Regions from separate parts of the Homo sapiens genome. Here all the other regions are linked to region 2. The links are contacts of gene promoters, found by promoter capture Hi-C in human tissues and cell types (Jung and others, 2019). All regions are on one chromosome and are shown on one strand. Each heading gives the region's core, a stretch centred on a gene start or on the middle of the fragment in contact. The rest is flanking DNA. Distances are from core to core; before and after follow the strand shown. Region 1 overlaps ADCY2 (adenylate cyclase 2). Region 2 holds the start of ADCY2 (adenylate cyclase 2). Region 3 has its middle 21 kb from the start of LINC02123. Region 4 has its middle 66 kb from the start of LINC02123.

Evidence for each region. Contacts are between HindIII fragments. The study calls those that stand out against the background at their distance.
Region 1: a fragment that was not itself captured here is called in contact with the fragment with the promoter of ADCY2 in region 2 in 2 of the 25 tissues and cell types used here (dorsolateral prefrontal cortex and small bowel).
Region 3: a fragment that was not itself captured here is called in contact with the fragment with the promoter of ADCY2 in region 2 in 6 of the 25 tissues and cell types used here (H1 embryonic stem cells, heart left ventricle, mesendoderm cells and 3 more).
Region 4: a contact is called between a fragment that was not itself captured here and the fragment with the promoter of ADCY2 in region 2, in 3 of the 25 tissues and cell types used here (liver, mesendoderm cells and thymus).

What each region holds. Positions count from the first base shown.
Region 1 is chr5:7,494,356-7,499,006 of GRCh38, reverse strand. The region is part of intron 2 of ADCY2 (adenylate cyclase 2); the gene reads right to left. Among named protein-coding and RNA genes, the nearest start is that of ADCY2, 100 kb to the right of the region's middle. The HindIII fragment of the contact is 3,128 bases long and covers 154-3,281 here.
Region 2 is chr5:7,393,727-7,397,785 of GRCh38, reverse strand. ADCY2 (adenylate cyclase 2) reads right to left here and starts at 1,648. Exons shown (of 25, transcript NM_020546.3): 1 at 1,280-1,648. The coding sequence starts at 1,489. LOC107986403 (a long non-coding RNA gene) reads left to right here and starts at 1,837. Exons shown (of 2, transcript XR_001742597.2): 1 at 1,837-3,710; 2 at 3,812-4,059. RefSeq lists enhancers at 1,567-2,332, 2,333-3,098. The HindIII fragment of the contact is 8,449 bases long and covers 1-4,059 here.
Region 3 is chr5:7,324,541-7,328,744 of GRCh38, reverse strand. No RefSeq gene overlaps it. Among named protein-coding and RNA genes, the nearest start is that of LINC02123, 21 kb to the left of the region's middle. RefSeq lists an enhancer at 2,115-2,409. The HindIII fragment of the contact is 3,657 bases long and covers 406-4,062 here.
Region 4 is chr5:7,280,354-7,284,587 of GRCh38, reverse strand. No RefSeq gene overlaps it. Among named protein-coding and RNA genes, the nearest start is that of LINC02123, 66 kb to the left of the region's middle. The HindIII fragment of the contact is 4,387 bases long and covers 1-4,025 here.

The DNA.
Region 1 (4,651 bases), core at 468-2,967, 100 kb before region 2:
ACTCTCTGATTTCAAACCCCATGGATAATTTTGGCTATTTTTAAGATTTATATGAATGGACTCATACAACATATATCCTTTTATGCTTGGCTTTTTCTGGCCAACATTATACTTGTGACATTTGGCCATGTCTCTGAATGTAATCATTATGGTTGCTTCATTGTCATCACTGTCTAGCATCCCATTGTGTAAATATAGCACACTTTATTTCATTGTTCTTCTGCTAGTGGACATGTAGGTAGTTTTCTAATTTAAACTACTACCACAGTGCTGCTGTGAACATTCTTGTACATATCTTTGATGAATATATTTTAACATTTATGTTGAATATAAACTGAGGAATGAAATTGCTGTGCAGTAGGCTGTGCACATGTTGAACTATAGTAGATACTAATTTACAGTTTTTCAAGTAGTTGAACCAATTTACATTATCAAAAGCATTGTATAAGAGTTTTACTTGGCCGGGCACGGTGGCTCACGCCTGTAATCCCAGCACTTTGGGAGGCTGAAGCAGGCGGATCACGAGGTCAGGAGATCGAGACCATCCTGGTTAACACGGTGAAACCCCGTCTCTACTAAAAATACAAAAAATTAGCCAGGTGCGGTGGGGGGCGCCTGTAGTCCCAGCTACTTGGGAGGCTGAGGCAGGAGAATGGCGTGAACCTGGGAGGTGGAGTTTGCAGTGAGCCAAGATTGTGCCACTGCACCCCAGCCTGGGCGATAGAGCGAGACTCTGTCTTAAAAAAAAAAAAAAAAAAAAAAAAAAACGAAAAAAGAAAAAGAGTTTTACTTACTCTATATCCTTGTCAATACTACTCCCATTTATAAGTTTGATTATCTCTATATTTTCAGAAATTATAACATTTACATATACTGTTCTCCCACACTTGTCTCTACTTTCATTTTACTCTCGGATCTACAGAGTATCCATAAAGTTTGAAAAGAGATAATATTGTTTTTACTATTATTGTTGTTTTTGTTTTACAAAATGAAGGTGTCCTAGAAAACACTGTAAATGTTCACCCATGCTTCCAGTTTCAATGAATACACTGCAGAACTCAGTATATTCACTTATTCAATGGACACCCTAAGTCCTTTTGTCTATGTTTTTCAGTCATTTCTTCTTAGATAATTCTGGTCCTTCAGTCTGGTGCTACTGAAAGTGTTGTCTACCGACTGGTAACTGGTTAAATAAATATAAGAAACTTGTGCCAAATTAAATACATTATTTCACTAAGAACATTGTTTAGTTCAGGCAACTTTTTTTTTTCGGTGCAATTTCTTCCTAATTCCACCTGGGCATGGTTTCCATATCCGGCTCTGCTGGTAGCTTGTACGTGAAAGTTTATTTCTCAACATAAAAATTACATAGGTGCTTGCTAATTTCTCTCTCCTCATTATGGATGAATTATGAATGACTTTTGGATGCTTTCATTTGCTCTCCTTATTGATGCAATTTTTTTGGAGGGATGTGTGAAAAAATTTAGATTATGAGGCCGCCTCAACTAGATATTACTGACACTAGAATACTGAAACTGGAAACTGTAATTTCCTGTTTTTATTCCCAAATGGTTAGCTAACACTTTTTTTGAAGGCTCAAATTAATTTCCCACTGATTCGAAATGACACATTTATACTTGAAACTATTTCTGTTCCAGCTATCCATTTTTATTCTTTTAATTATAAACCATATACATTTTAATATCACAAAAATTCAAGTAATTCTCTACAGATCTGCTTTATATAACTGCCCTGGTTATTCTTGTTTGTGTATCTTCCATACTGTTAGTGACATGTGATTAATCTTCCCATACTTGCATGTGTATTTTGGTTGAGACTGCCTTCATTTGAGAGATTAAAGATGGGAAATTTGATACTTTTTAAAGAACATTGCATCTTCATAAGTGGGAATGTGCTTTATCTTTGGATGCATTGATAGCTTCTCTTATGGCATTCCTTAAAGTTTGATAGTTTTCTTCAAGAAATTCTGAACAATTCAAGTGTAGTTGGGAAATTAATAAGGACCTGAGTCTATATATTTAAGGGTCAATTAAGTACCTGAGAAAACTGACCTAAAACGATTAATGCCAAGGAAATTCTGACCATTGCTTATGTTTATTCCTAGATATATTATTGCTGATATATTCATATAAAATATTCCTAGATATATTATTCATGTAAATAAAGTTATTGCCCCATTATATTTGCTAACTTTTTGTTCCTTATATATTGGAAAGTAGTTAAGCTTCACTCCTAACGTAATTAATCCCTCCATTAATGCTAGTGGTTTTCAATTGAGTCTCTCGTTTATCAGGAGCTAATACTAAAAATGACTAAAATTTACAGAGGGCATACTCTCTGTCAACTATTGTAAAATAATAATCTTATATGCATTATCCAATTTATTTTAACAACAAAATTGTGAAGTATATGGTATTAATATTCTCAATTGAAAAATTAAATATTAAAGCTTAGAGAGGTTAAATAACATGGCCGAATTCATTCAGCTATTATATATCAAGGTCAATGTGTAATAGCCACAATTAGTGATCATTTTTTCTTATCCTTTCTGTATACTTTCATTTTTCTCCTTGTTCAACCAGCTTGGTTAAGTACAGTGTTACCCAACAGAATTAAGAGCACACACCCTCTTTAGTCTTCGTCTTAATGATAATTCCTCCAATGTTACATTCCTAAGAATTTGGAGTTAGCGATTTTTATTAAAATGTTGTTGCTTTTATAAACATTTTATAAAGTGTATAGGAAATTTCCTTTTGATTTTTTATCTTGCTAAGAGTTTCTCCCCTATAAATTAGAGTGGATTTATCAGAACTATTATTCAGCATGCCCTTTTGCATGGTGTGTTGTTTGCCTTCAAAATCAAATATTTAATGAAAAATCATAAGTCTTAGACAACCCCTGATAGTTCCAATCTTTGGTTCTTACATTTTAAACAGGCCATTCACACTTTAATCTTGGACTATGCAGCAGCAACAACCACCCTTCAGTGCTTGCCTAGGAGAACTGCACTTACAATGGGTTACTTTGCAGAGAAAGAACACACATGTATTGGTAGGCGTGAAAGAAAATTATTTTTATAAATTCAGTCATCTTCTACGTGATTACTCCTTTTTCTAAAATGAAAACTTTCCACTGACTGGCTAAATAATTCATTGAAAGTGCCTCCAAATCTATTTCTAAATTTAAGAAATGAAAAGTATTTCACAGACTATTTTTAGATAAGGATGTCAAAATGTTCAGATTTAGCATACTCGCATAACGTTCCAGAGGGAAAAAAAGGTACAGTATGATTGTTCCAGGTTTACTTGTAATGAGACCAACTGCATTGGAAATAAAACACTATTTAAGAAGCAACTTTTATTACCAACAGATGAAATAACTTAGTCTCCTCAAGATTAAAAGCAATTCATAAATACACTCATTTTAGGTCATTTTGTGCAAAAATAACTATCCTCCTTTGCAAATAGATTTAGATTCATTTTCTGGGAACAAAACAAAATTTCTGATATTAAGGTCTGCTATTCTTCTGCAATAATATCCCGTTTTATGCTTATAGCATTAATTTCCAAAGCTAATTAATTTATCCTATCTTAAGAGTTCATGGTAGCAGACTAGAGTCTTCCAAACAAAAGAGCTTGATGATGCAATGAAGCTCGAAATTCCTGACACAGAGATACAGGCGTTTCCTGGCACACAAGGAACAAGGGCACAAGTTCCCACGAAGCCAATTTAACTCCTTTTATTTAGAGCATATTCAGGAGTGAAGTCAGATGCAGAACATGGAGGTGAGGCACGGGGGTGATTAGGGCTAACATACATGTGCAGGCACCTAAACATGGCTTATAGACTAGACTGCACTAAAGATAGTCACCAGGATATTAAATATGGGTTTGCCTGAGTTTTGTTTTATCTTTGAGACATGGAAAATTTGAGCAAGAAATGGTAAAAGCAAAGTGACAGCAGAGATGAGGAAAAGCTGGACAATTCCCCAGACAGGGTGTGGCCAAGCCTTGGGTGCAGCCACTGGCACATCCACAACATGGCAGCTGGTCCGGTGTTCTCTCAGAGAAGCTTGGTTTGGAAGGATGGAGCCAACAGTTACAACACCCTTTCCACTGTCTAAAGTTTAGTCAAACCTACAAGTTCAACTAATCAAAATGAAGTCTGTTTCTTTTTCTTGTTCTTAACACCTTGTTGAATTCTGTTACTTGACACCTTGGTAGGTCTCCAGGCAATTCACACTTTGCTGGAAACCTACAACAGCATTACCAAGTCCTTACTGTGGCATTAAAATGGAGCTGAGAGTCTCTGCCTCCGTAACCACTAACACTAATTAAAGAGTTCACTCCCACTAGCCTTGAGCCCCCACCATCTGCCAGGCCTGGAGGAGCCCTTGGAAACAGGATCCAGACCTTGCTCACTAGGATGGGTTAAGGATGGTGAAATTTGAGCACATGTAAGAAGTACCCAGCTCAGTTTTGAATAACAGGGAAAATACTACAAGAAGCACAATGTCCCATGCAAAGACTTCAAAGTAGAGTGCAGCATGTGCAGAGGGAGGGAAAGCGTAGAGTTGAGAGCAGAGAGAGAAGGGGAAGCCAAAGCACCTGCAGATTCATGAGCTTCAGCA
Region 2 (4,059 bases), core at 399-2,898:
TACATTCTATTTCTATTCTTACCTCATTGAACTCAATCAGTAGACAGCTACCATTGAGTGGTGTGGGGGAATTTTTTTATTTTTTAAAAACATGATGGTAACAATTCTTCCCATGCATAACATTTGAACACCATCTGGCTCCGGACATCCTAAACAAATTGCCAAATACCAAGGACAGCTATTTTATGCATGGTGAAATATAAGCAAAATCCACTTCTTTGGTGGTGGACACATATAAATATAGGCACATATTTATATTCTAAGCTCAAAATACATCACCCAGTGGACACATTCACAGATCAACCACTGACTAAAAAAAAAAAAAAAAAAAAAAAAAAAACTCACTGGTGGATAATCAATGCCTCGCACAAAATCTGCACATGCATGTCACAGGCAGTGCAAAAGTTTGAACCACACACTCAGAGATCAGTAACAGGAAGTTATCGCCATCTACAGACTTCCCCTCACTTTTCAAGGGAGCGAGCCAAGGATTTCTGCTTGAAAAATATAAACTGGCAAAACTGACATCAGCTGTTGAGCTGCATTATACTCCTCGTGATGAAATCCACTTTAATAACCTGTCCAAAACCCTAAACACGTTACTTCTTTAGAAACGGGAAAGCAATCGTCCGTCCCAAACGCTTCTTAACTGTAGTCTCTGAGATGAAAGATTGATTCACAAGTCAACACCACATCACTTTCCGTCTATCGGGCTAAAGAGCTAAATGCATACAGATTTAAAGGCAAAGATGTATACTTAATTTTTCTTCTTCATTTTCCTTGTCATTAACCACTTTCCCAAGGCAGGCTTTCTGCAGAGTTGAATAACGCCCAATCCCAACTAAAATGCCAACTGTGGGGCCATGCCAGTGGAACCGGGCAGGAGACAGCGACTCGCCCAGGAAGCCCAGGGCTGAGTCGGGGAAGACCTATTCCAGCGCTGCGGGCAGCGGTGCCCGGCGGAAAGCGCAGAGTTTGCCAGCGGGTGCGCAAAGATGCAAAAAGCACACGCCCTGCCCGTCCACCTGGTGAACACCTCGGGAACTTTATTTTGGGAAGAGCCTTCCCAGGAAACTTTTCTCCCGCCCGCAGCCCTTGCCAGAGTCCACCGGGCCGCGGGCCAGCAGGAGAAGCAGGGAGCCGCGGGCCGAGGGGCTGCCGCGGGCCGAGGGGCTGCCGCGGGCCGAGGGGCAGCCCGGAGCGGGACGCGGCTCGGCTGGCCGGGCTCCTCTCAGGGCCGGGGAAGGCGCGGCGCTGGACCCGCGGGGAGGCCACTCACCAGCCCGAGCGCGAAGAAGACGGCGAGCAGGGCGAGGCAGGAGCCCATGACGATGAGCAGCAGGAAGACGATGAGCGGGTGCTGCTGGCTCATGCAGTAGTAGGACTCGTAGAGCCAGTCCCGGGACCGCGGCAGCCCGTCTCCGCCGCCCGCCGCCTCCTCGGAGCGGTCCCGCAGGTAGCGGCGGCGCCGCATCGCCTCCTGCCACATCGGGGCCGCTCACAGGGCGCCCGCCGTGCGCGCCCGGCCCGGGCAGCGCCGCTCGCCGCGGCCGCCCGCGTCCCACCCCCGCGCCGCCTCGGCCGGCCCGGCTGCCGGCACCCGGAGCTGCGCGCAGGGGCCTCCGGCGCGGGCGGAGCTCGGCGCCCCGGGCTGGGCGCGCTGACGCGCGGGCGGGGGCCGGGCGGCGGCCTCGGGGGCAGCTCCCGGCGCCGCCGCCGCCACCGCCACCGCGCGGGAGGGGGCGGGTTCCACGGGGCCCTCCGCCCGCCGCTCCCCGCCCCGCGCGCAGCCGGCCTCCGTGCAGGGGCGGTGTCGGCCCCCACCCGACGGCCCGGCTGCAGGCTGGGGACGGCGGGGGCTGTACGGTGGGGGGAGTGGCGAACTGAGGGGCTCCCGCTGCGCCCCGGCCCGGGGTCGTCCTCGCCCGCCGGCCTCCCACACTCAGCCACCAGGTCGTCCACCTCCTCTGCCCTATCCCGAGTGCAGCGTGGGTGGGGTGGGAGGGACGGCCCTCCCCGCTACGAAGTGAGAACACAGCCTAAGGGGTGGAGGGAGGGAGTCCTACCCCCACCACTCCCCCCGCCCCACCTGGCTCGGAGCACTGCGGGGCTCCTCAGCTCCTCTCCACTACCTCAAGGTCAGCGGGCAGGGACGCTGCCACCCTCCTGTTTCCTCCACCCCTTAGTGGGCTGCGGGGCCTGCTCCCACCCTCCCCCACAGTCACAGAGCGCAGCCGGGGTCAGAGGACCCGGGGGGTCCCTCCTTTAGTACGCGGGTCAGAGGACAGCGGGGTCTCCCTCCTTTTCACTCTTTTGGGGAGCTGGAGAGGATTTCCCACCCTTCCCGCCTCCCCGCGGTGGGCACCGGTTTGCCGTCCAGCCCTTCTTCCCCTCAGCGTAGCAGGGTTGAGGGCTCCCCCATCCTCTCCACCCTCTTGAGAGGGCCGGGGCTCCCTGCGAGGGCGGCAGGGCGCGGAAACGCCAGGGGACCTAACTGGAGACCGGCACCATGTGGAAGTGAAGCGGCAGTGACTGCACTGGGAGCCCCCGCCACGGCCTCGCGGGGGCAGCGTCCGTTGCGCCCTGCACGCTCAGCTTCAGTCACACTTTGGAGGTGCCGTATAAGCCTGTCATATCACAGGTTTACAGAGCTGCCCCGTGGCTGGTCGTGGTCCTCGCCGAGCCCCTCTGCTGAGCGGGGATGGCGGCAAAGGGGCGCCGGGGAGAGCGGCTGGGCGCGGGAGCGGGCGGGTCGGCCCTGGGAGTAGCTCCCTCCCTGTCACCTTGGGGGCCTGGACGCAGGAGGCGCTAGAGACCCGGCAGGAGCGTTGTGGGGGCGGATGTCACCAGGGACAGTGTCCCCTCCCGACACGCGTGGGAGCGGAGGCCGCTGGCCTTCGCCCTGGGGGCCGAAGGGGCTTCATTGCTTATCACCAAAGGAACCCACCCTTCTGGAAGTTTCCTCCTATTCGAGTGTGGTCCGGCCCAAAGAGCCCCCAAATCCCACCTCCTCCCCCAAAGCCTTACCCCAAGGAATCCAAGGCACAAGAGCCCTCCCTTCTCCTGCCACCAGCGAGCATCCCAGAGGGCAGCCCCAGAGGGCTGTTCCATGCACTTTTCATCTCTTCCAGGAGATGACCAGCTCTCAGGACTCAGCCTTGTCACCACCTAAGACCTCAGAACCTTCTCGAATGGCCCCATGCCCCGCCTCCCTGGCTGTCCTGTCCTCCTCGCTGGCAGAGGGCATGTAAGCTAGGTAGCTGCGTTACCCTGAGCACAGGGCCAGGCCGGGCACGGATCCTTCCAGAGGTTTTCATTTTAGCATCCGTCAGTGCCCACAGGGCCTAAGGATGAGGGCTCAGGAGCTGCACAGCTCACCCGCAGATCTCATAGACACCAGAGGCAGGGAGGTGGCCGAGGAGACTGGGCCCAGGGCTGCGTGCAGTACCTCAGGTCCGGCCCCACCAGGCTCCCTGGTCCCTGGACTTCCCTCCTTCTGAGGACCTGGAAACAAGGAGTGGAGGAGGAGGCAATGGGTGGGGGGGTGTCCCCCTGAAGCCTCCTGTAGGTCCCAAGGCTCACCTCCCACCGTGGGTCATCCTGCCCTAGCAGCAGAAAGAAATTCTCTTCCCTGCAGTGTTTATGGACTGCTGCCCCCACCCTGTCCTGCCTGCCCTCCACTCCAACACCCTCCTGTGACTGTAACCCAGGTAATTTCAACCTCAGACCCTCCCACCAAACCTCACTGGGCTGGATGCTTTGGGCTCGGTGCTTTGCTATGAACCTCAGGATGTGATTACTATACTCCCAGATTTTAGGTTTTTGAAGGTTCTGAGAGCAAGCTTCCATGACAGACAACACTGATGAATCCGCGGTATAAATATCCAGAACCCAATCCCTTCCAAGGAAACACGGTTGAGTGGGAAGCTGGACACGGTTTCTATTGTGTTGGTTCTGTCTTCCTCCGGCTGTGTGCTTGGTCTTTCTGGGGCGGGCAGAGTTGCACATTTCCAGTCCTTTCCTGTGCTAGCAACAGACTAATTATTCATCTTCTCTTCA
Region 3 (4,204 bases), core at 985-3,484, 70 kb after region 2:
TACCAACAGCTTGATTTTCTGTGCTTCAAATAAACATAAATGTTTCCTCTTTTTCCACTGTTACCCACAGGAGTATCTTCAGGCCTTTTTGACATTTTCAACAATACATTTACACCATAGAGCAGAGAATAAGCAACAAAAATTATAGTAAATAATGCACATAGGTCTTGAATCTACATGGTGCATGGTGGGGAGCCTGCTGTTGATGTCTCTGGCCTGCACACGTGCCATTTTAGTATCATTTGTGGGCATTTTTAAGTAGGGAAATCTGGATGTGTGTGGAAAAGATATATCACAGCTGAAGGGGGCTGGGAAAGTCTTTTTTCCCGTAGGGATACTGAATAAACTGTTGTACACCTGTGTTTTGACTGCAACCCATTGCATGATGTCACGTGTGGAATTGTCCACTTGTGGCACCATGGTGGCCCTCAAAAAATTTTGAATTTTGGAACATTTTTTATTTTGAATTTTTGGATTAGAGATGCTCCACTTGTAGAAGACCGAGAGTCACAATAATTAGCCTCATAAAAATATTTATTTAAAAACATTTTTTGAAAGGCAATTGAAGAAAACATTTAAGGAGAGAAGGAACAGAATACATTTTCCATTCTAGAAAATTAAAAGAGAAATAAGTTGCAGCTATAGCTTTCGCTTTTATCAGCAATGTGCAAGTAAAATTCACATGTAGCAAACTATGGTGCTTTAAGCTATGAAGATGTAGCTGAAGAATCAATGAGGTAGAGAGGTTTGTAAAAATGAATTTATTTTTTATTTCCTTGACTTTTTTGTCACTACATTTCCAATAAGACTCAGTCCCACCAACAGGATGCTCTCACAGGAGACTTTGAATTGGAGCTGAGTTGTATGGCGAAAGATTGGTTCCCATTTGTTGGTATAGCTGGTGATAGAAGTGTCAAGGATCTGTAGCCTGAAATTCTGTGGCTTCTGACTTCACAAGGTAGCTTCTGGATGCCTCCAGACGCTTCAGAAGCAGTAGGGAGAATTTCCTTGATTTTGGCAAACGCAGTTCTGCTATTAGAAGCAATCTTAACAATTCCTTGGTTTACTCCAGAAGAGAAGAGTCTGGTGACTGAGAAGCACTAGGGGTCTCAGAAGCACTAGGGGTGCTTCTGAGAGCACCCCTAGAGCCTGTTTCTCCAGCCTTTGATGATTTTGTATATGTATACTTCTTTGTATTAAGTATCTTTTTACTTAAACCTACTAAAGCATCTGCAATCACACCCTAATCAATGTAAAAGTGAAGCGTTGGCCAAAAATGAATTCCAAATCACCAAAGCTATGCGAGTCTGAATGTACACACGTTTCTTTGTGCAAAGAAGGCAAAAAATGAAAAAAAGACCTTGCGAGACGGTCCCAGGGCACATTTTCTGTACATCTCTGAGTCAAACCTCAATGGTTATTATAAGTGGTTACTATCAGAATTGAACAAGGGCAGAAGTCTCCAAGCTTCTCTGTGAATGGCTTGATTTCTTGGAATAGTGTGGGTACTCGAGGCCTGGGGAAAACACTTGCTGGAGGTGAGCAGATCCTGAGAGCCAGCAGCCACAAAAGTCCAGGATCCATGTGCACAGGAAGCACACCGTTGGGGAAGAGCACTCCAACCTTTCTTCAGAAGGTCCTCTGCAGATCCAGGAGGCCCTGCTCTGAAGAAATGCTCCTGTCAATGATGCGACCTTGGAATCTTTGAGGATCACAAGAGGCTGGTTTAAAGATGCTGGGATACTTTGGCCAGCATTTGTATACGGAGCTGTTGGTAGGGTGTTCTTCACAAATAAACCCATCACCAGTTTGGTTCTTCCTGCTACAAGGGGCTGCCCAAAGTCAAGATCATGAATGCTGTCTTGATAAACTGTACTTTCTAACTTTTATACTGTCAGAGTACTTATGGTACGGGCTACTTTTTCACATGTGAGACTCATTAATGGTGGTGATTCAAACCAGCTGAAGCAGTATTATGGAAATTATTATTTCATTTAATTCTTTTTGCCTGCAGATAAATTGCAAAGTTTGCAAATTTTAAATATCCAGGTCCTGTACCAATTCCCTCATATTTATTGGTCACCGGAAGTTTCAAGAATTTTGGAGCTGATTGAAGAAAAGACAGGACTAGGAGATGACAGTATTGTACAACAAGCTTTATTGAGTGGCACTTGGGCAGGGAAGATGTTGCTCAGCAGTGAGGTGGGGCGTCTCCGGGTCATGGAGCTCTTAGAACAGCAGAAGTTTGGGTCTTTTATAACCACAGAGTTTGTCTTATCTATGGCTAGCAGATGTTGACTGCACTCTCATGGGATGTGCAAAGCAGACAGGCTCTAAATAGCTAAAAAAATAAAATGCTTATGTGAGCTATATGTAAGTGATAGAATGTGTAAAATTTTGAATTTGGTGCTGGAAGGTTTTGCGTTAATTTTCTTATTCTGAAGAAGTAAAAAACTTAGTGTCCAGTATACAGGGTTCCTCTCTGGCCAACTTACACAACAGTGTTGGCACAGCTCTTGGTAGCCCAAGAGTGCGTGAGGCTTCTCTGCACTCACCCATGCTTGCTGCTTCAGCAAGATGAGGGGTCAAGGAACTCCACGTGCCTCACCCTCTCCCTGGGTTCCAGATGACGAAACACAGATCTTTTCTAGTCTTAGTTTCCAAATTGATCCAGAAATTCTACAAAAAAAATTTTAAAGTGAATCATAGAGTTGGCAAGGATTCCACAGAGGCTAAAAAATTAAAAAGTTTAGAAAACTTTGGAGGCATGTTCTGGGCCAATCTCTCAGCCAACTCCTGCTCAATAGTGGGGACGATCTGATGACTCGTGCTTGGGTACCCAATCACCTCATATTTGCACTCCACATGCAGTTCAGTTCCTCCCATCCCAGAGCCAAATAAAATCAGGTTCTTTTATGTGAAGATAAATAATCTATTCTTGTGCCAATATGTGTTAACTCTTATTATATTTTAGTAGTTGGATTATTTGTAATAAGTGTGATAAAAAGAGTATTGAAATTAAATCTGGCTGGGTGCAGTGGCTCAAGCCTGTAATCCCAGCACTTTGGGAGGCCAAAGTGGGCAAATCGCTTGAGGCCAGGAGTTCAAGACCAGCCTGGCCAACATGGTGAAACCTCCTGTTTACTAAAAAGACAAAATTTAGCTGGGCATGGTGGCTGGCACCTGTAACCTAAGCTACTTGGGAGGTTGAGGCAGGAGAATCACTTGAGTCCAGGAGGCGGAGGTTGCAGTAAGCCGAGATTGTGCCATTACACTCCAGCCTAGGAGACAGAGTGAGGCTCCATTGCCCCCATAAAATAATAATGAAAGAAAAAAGAAAAAAAAAGAAATTAAATCTGTCCCTGAAAATTCAATGCCTGGGATTTTCATTACAACCAATATTGACACGGGAGAGTAACTAATTTACTCAATAAATGCTTATTAGATGTTGACTAAATGCTCACAATATTTTATACCTAATTAATGAATGAATGATAATTTTTTTCTAATACATTTTTAAGTAAAAAATTTCAACCTAGCCCAATTATTTTAAATCTTCTTTTTATATCGAGAAGTATTTGTTGTCTGTGGTGAGAGGTTATTTCCCACTAAACATTGTTGATGATGTAATCTATGACGAACAGATCACACTATTTCTGTAGGCTCTATTATTATTTTTTCTAGTATTTTGATAGGGCTTTAAGGAGGAAAATAATGGTAAGCCTAACAACCTTAATATTTCGTTCATTGATCAGCATATCTGAAACACGGATTTGCTTTATGATATGCAAAATAATTATGTACAAGAATATTGGTTTATCTGCAAGTTTTTTAAGTGAAAGAAATATGCCTCTAAAGAAAAGAAAGCCAATAGCCCAGGTAAAATCTCTCAGGGCAGTATTTAAGTCTGTGAACTCTTCTTTCTTTGCTAAATCCACTCTATTTCTGGAGAAAAATCCACAGCACTGATATGAAGGTGGTTGAGGTTTTATTTTAGCTTTTCAAGACACTTTGTATTGAAGAAAATGTGCTACCATGGTTTAGCAAAATAATCCAAGCCCACTGATGTTACCACTGAATCTATAAGCAGGAAGCATAAAACTACTGAAGTAAAAAATAAAAGTGGGGTGGGCCCAGCAAAACTGAAGTAAATGATCTGGACTAGAATGTTAAATCTCATCCCTCAGAAATCCAGTAGCTAAGG
Region 4 (4,234 bases), core at 583-3,082, 110 kb after region 2:
CAGAACAAAGTTCTGTGTTTTGAGTAGGTAAAATACTACCAGTAAGGCAAGAGGTAAGCATTCAATGCGTCATATATAGATTTAAGGGATACATGGTGTAGAAAATGTAAAAAGATATTTTACTGATGATTCTGATAATGTACAAATGATTCAACTGTAACAACTAGGAGGAAAGAGTAAAAGAAAGGGGAAAGTAGGAATTAGCTCCCTGATTGCCTCATCTATAATAGCTGAGAGTAGTGGGTTCATTTTAAATCTCAAAATTTGCCCATAATAGTATGAAAACATTAAGTGGCAAAAAGGCAAATATTAAGAAATATCCTGCCACAAAAATCAAATAGTTCAGGAGAAGTTGAGAAAGTGAAAATAGCATAGAGTCTAATTTAATTGCCACTCATTGTGGGGAACCATTAGGTATTATCTAAATAAATGGAGAAAAATATAAATGCAGGTAAAATTACAAAAATAACAACCAGAAAACTACATCTTTCTTATCAATAAAAATAAATCATCATTTAACAATATAAAATATTTAATAATAATAAATACTAAATTTTACAATACATATACAAGAAATACACCAAAATCAAATAGAGCCAAATTTTTTTTAAATAAAATGGTCAACAAATACCAAACAGACAAATGCTAACAAATGAATTATCAACCTATTTTTATTGTCTTCTCCTTGCTTATTTTTTTAAATTCCTTTTTAAAATTTTGTTTAGATACTTTAAAATTACTCTTTTTATATTATTTTCTCTAATAATTCTAACCTTCTGGTTTTGTTTCTCAACATTTCTGCTGTTTCTATCACAATATCTATTTTCCTTGAGTGTTTTCTTGTTGGTGGTGTTCTTTTCTGGTTTTTGTTTGTTTTGTTTGTTTGTTTTGGTTTTGATTGAAAGAAATACAACAATGGAAGCTCACACTACTGCAGGGTGCTTCTCCAGATTTTGCCTATCACTCATAATTCTACTTTTATTTACTTTTCAGATTCCTCAGTTAGTTGCTTATTGTACTTTTCATAGTTTTAGTTGTAATCAACATGTAAGATAGGCTACAGGGAGCTTATCCTGCCACAAAATACCAGAAATCCATCTTTTTTTGGTTTCTTAAAAAAAGTCATTTTGAACTTGTAATTTGTAGGAAGGAACGCAGATTTAGAGGCATACATTTTCCATGACATGGACAAATCATTTAACAATGTTAAGTCTCTATTTCAGCAAATACAGAAAAGATATGATTCACAGGACAAGAAAACTGACAGTTAAGAACTTACATGCAAAGGCATTTCAACAAATAATATAATCCATCCTACTCCTAAGAGAGGAAAATTTGTATTAATGAAACTTCTACCAGGTATCACTTTCACCTCAGTTAATCCACAAACATGAAGTCAGCAACATTTTGTGATAAACCATATCCAAACAGTTGATTGATGAAATGTCATTAATAGAACAGCAGTTATCCATGATTCAGTAAAAATTCATCAATCACCCATACAACAAACTTAATTCCATCTTATACTAAGCACATACACTACAGTGAAAACTGTCAACTTCTGATGATCTAAAAATGTCTCTTCTATGACCATGTGATCACACTGAAATAAAGAATACAGAAAATTCATAGATGGTCAGTTAAAAAAAAGCTTCCGTGAAGCAATAAACTTTCCTTAAAAATGCTAAAATAATAACATAGACTGCATAATATAACACTCATTTTACTGACATAATCTGTTGGGGCATTTTGTGAATCAAATACTTTCTTTTATATATACTTATAAATGTCATACCAGAATTACACATTTTCTAATGAAATATAAAAGCATAAAAGAATCGTATTCATAAGTTGATTTAATCATTGTCTCGAGTTCAATATTACAAACAAGTGTAATTATGGTACAAGTACAAAACAAATGGTGATTAAAGCATGTCAGAAAACAGATGTTCCTGCATACAGATGGACAATCCAATTAATACTTCTCAAATAGAAAACAGCTATTTACTCCTTACTAATGAATGATATAATTATTTATCATTAATGCAGCTTGGTTTTTTAATGTCTCCATGAAGAGCTTAAATATAATTTTCCTAAAGATGCATTTGGGCCAGGCGCCGAGGCTCAGGCCTGTAATCCCAGCACTTTGGAAGGCCAAGGCAGGCGGATCACGAGGTCAGGAGATCGAGACCATCCTGGCTAACATGGTGAAAACCCGTCTCTACTAAAAGTACAAAAAAATTAGCTAGGCGTGGTGGCGGGCGCTTGTAGTCCCAGCTATTCGGGAGGCTGAGGCAGGAGAATGGCGGGAACCTGGGAGGCGGAGCTTGCAGTGGGCTGAGATCGCGCCACTGCACTCCAGCCTGGGCGACAGAGCAAGACTCCATCTCAAAAAAATAAATAAAAATAAATAAATAAATACATAAATAAATAAATAAGAAAAAAGATGTATTTGGATGGTTAATGTATTTTTAATGTATAATTATCTATTGTAGTTAAAAGATGATCAAATGTGCTGATTCACTCAGTGTCTATGTTTCAAATGCAGGACTTAAGGAACAATTTGCCATAAGCCACCAACTTATTGTTTTCTTTTAAATTATATATCTAACACGCATACACACACACAATATATATATATACAAAACATTAATAATGATGAAAATGTTGAGAATCATGAAGAATGGTATATATGTAATACATATGTTTTTTTCACAAGAGTTTTCCAACTACTCTACTTTTTTTTTTTAGTAGAATACATTAGATACTACAAAAGAAATGAAAATAAAATGATGTGGAATAGCAGGTAAGAGAGCTAAGAATCAGGCTAGCTACAAATAGAGCATTTGTAAATGAAAATTGAGATGCCATGGTGTGATGGCAGGCTCTCCTCCTGATAACACGAAGCTCATCCCAGCAACGGTGTTAGGCTTGCCTCGCTAGCATCAGGTAACATGATCATATCTCTATAGTTAGATTTTGAGAGATGGAAGAAAATCAGGATTCCTCGGCTTATAGGTGGCAAGAAGAACTTGAAAAGTTTTGATGGAAAGATCCAAAAATTATTCGTGGATTTGGAAAACAAAACAAAACAGATTCCCAGAGGAGGAAATAATGGTTTAGCCTTAAGAAAAAGGACTGAAGAGAGAGTAATGTACAATAAGTACCTTATATATCTCCATCTCAGTTTTATATGCTATATATACATTTTATATGCACAAATTTTTATGACATATATACACACTATATATATATATATATATATACACACACACAATATGAATAATTTATATATAAATATAAAGATGGGGGTAAAAACCCCCACCTTTATTTTGAGACTGACTACATGTTACATTAAACCGGAAAATAGTGGAATCTCTTCTTTCCATTTGTGTTGAAAAATAGGACAAATTCCCATTTATCTGATGTTGACATGGATATGTCCTGGAGCAATAGAAGGGCAGGGGTGGCCCTTTACATGCTCTCCACCTCTCTCAACCTATAATTCTCTGGTTATACATTCCTTTTATTAGAACAAGTCAATAAAATTGTCCATAAACAAAAGCAAGCTTTCCTCCCTGAATAGTTTGGCTCAAAGTATTGAGAAATGGAACTGCAAACCCAATTTTCCTCTTGGTTCCTTTTTGGAAATAAAAAAAAAAAAATCAATATCAAGAAGAGAGGTCTTTTGACCAGTGAAAAACACCTCAATTAATTGCATGTGAAAAACAGCTTTTTTTTTTTTTTTTTTTTTTTTTTTTGCTATCAGCTGCTAGTGACCATCCTGAAATGCCTGCCTGTCATTTGGCCCTGGGAATATTAGCACGTGACAGTGGAACTTCAGCCCCTCTGTTTTCCCCAATATGGAAGCACACAGAAATCACTTCTCCAGGTCAGAGGAAAAACGGAAAATGAAACTTATATTAGTGGAGTCAATTCCGACTTTATGAAGCGTCTACAGGTCTATTTCCTGGGCTAGTGCAAGGAAGTGTTCCCATCTGAACTTGACACATGAAAAAATTAAGGCACAGAGAATGAAAGAGATTATGTATGGGAACACGTAGCTTTCCACCTCCAAAACTTATACTCTTTACTGCTACCTAAATCTGCCATGCCGATTAATTACCACAGATCCTACAAAGCATATGGCACATTGATGACTAATCTGTGATTACTTTATGTTTTATGGAAAGTGCTGACGGCATTGATATCTGCTTTGCCATTTTACCGTATC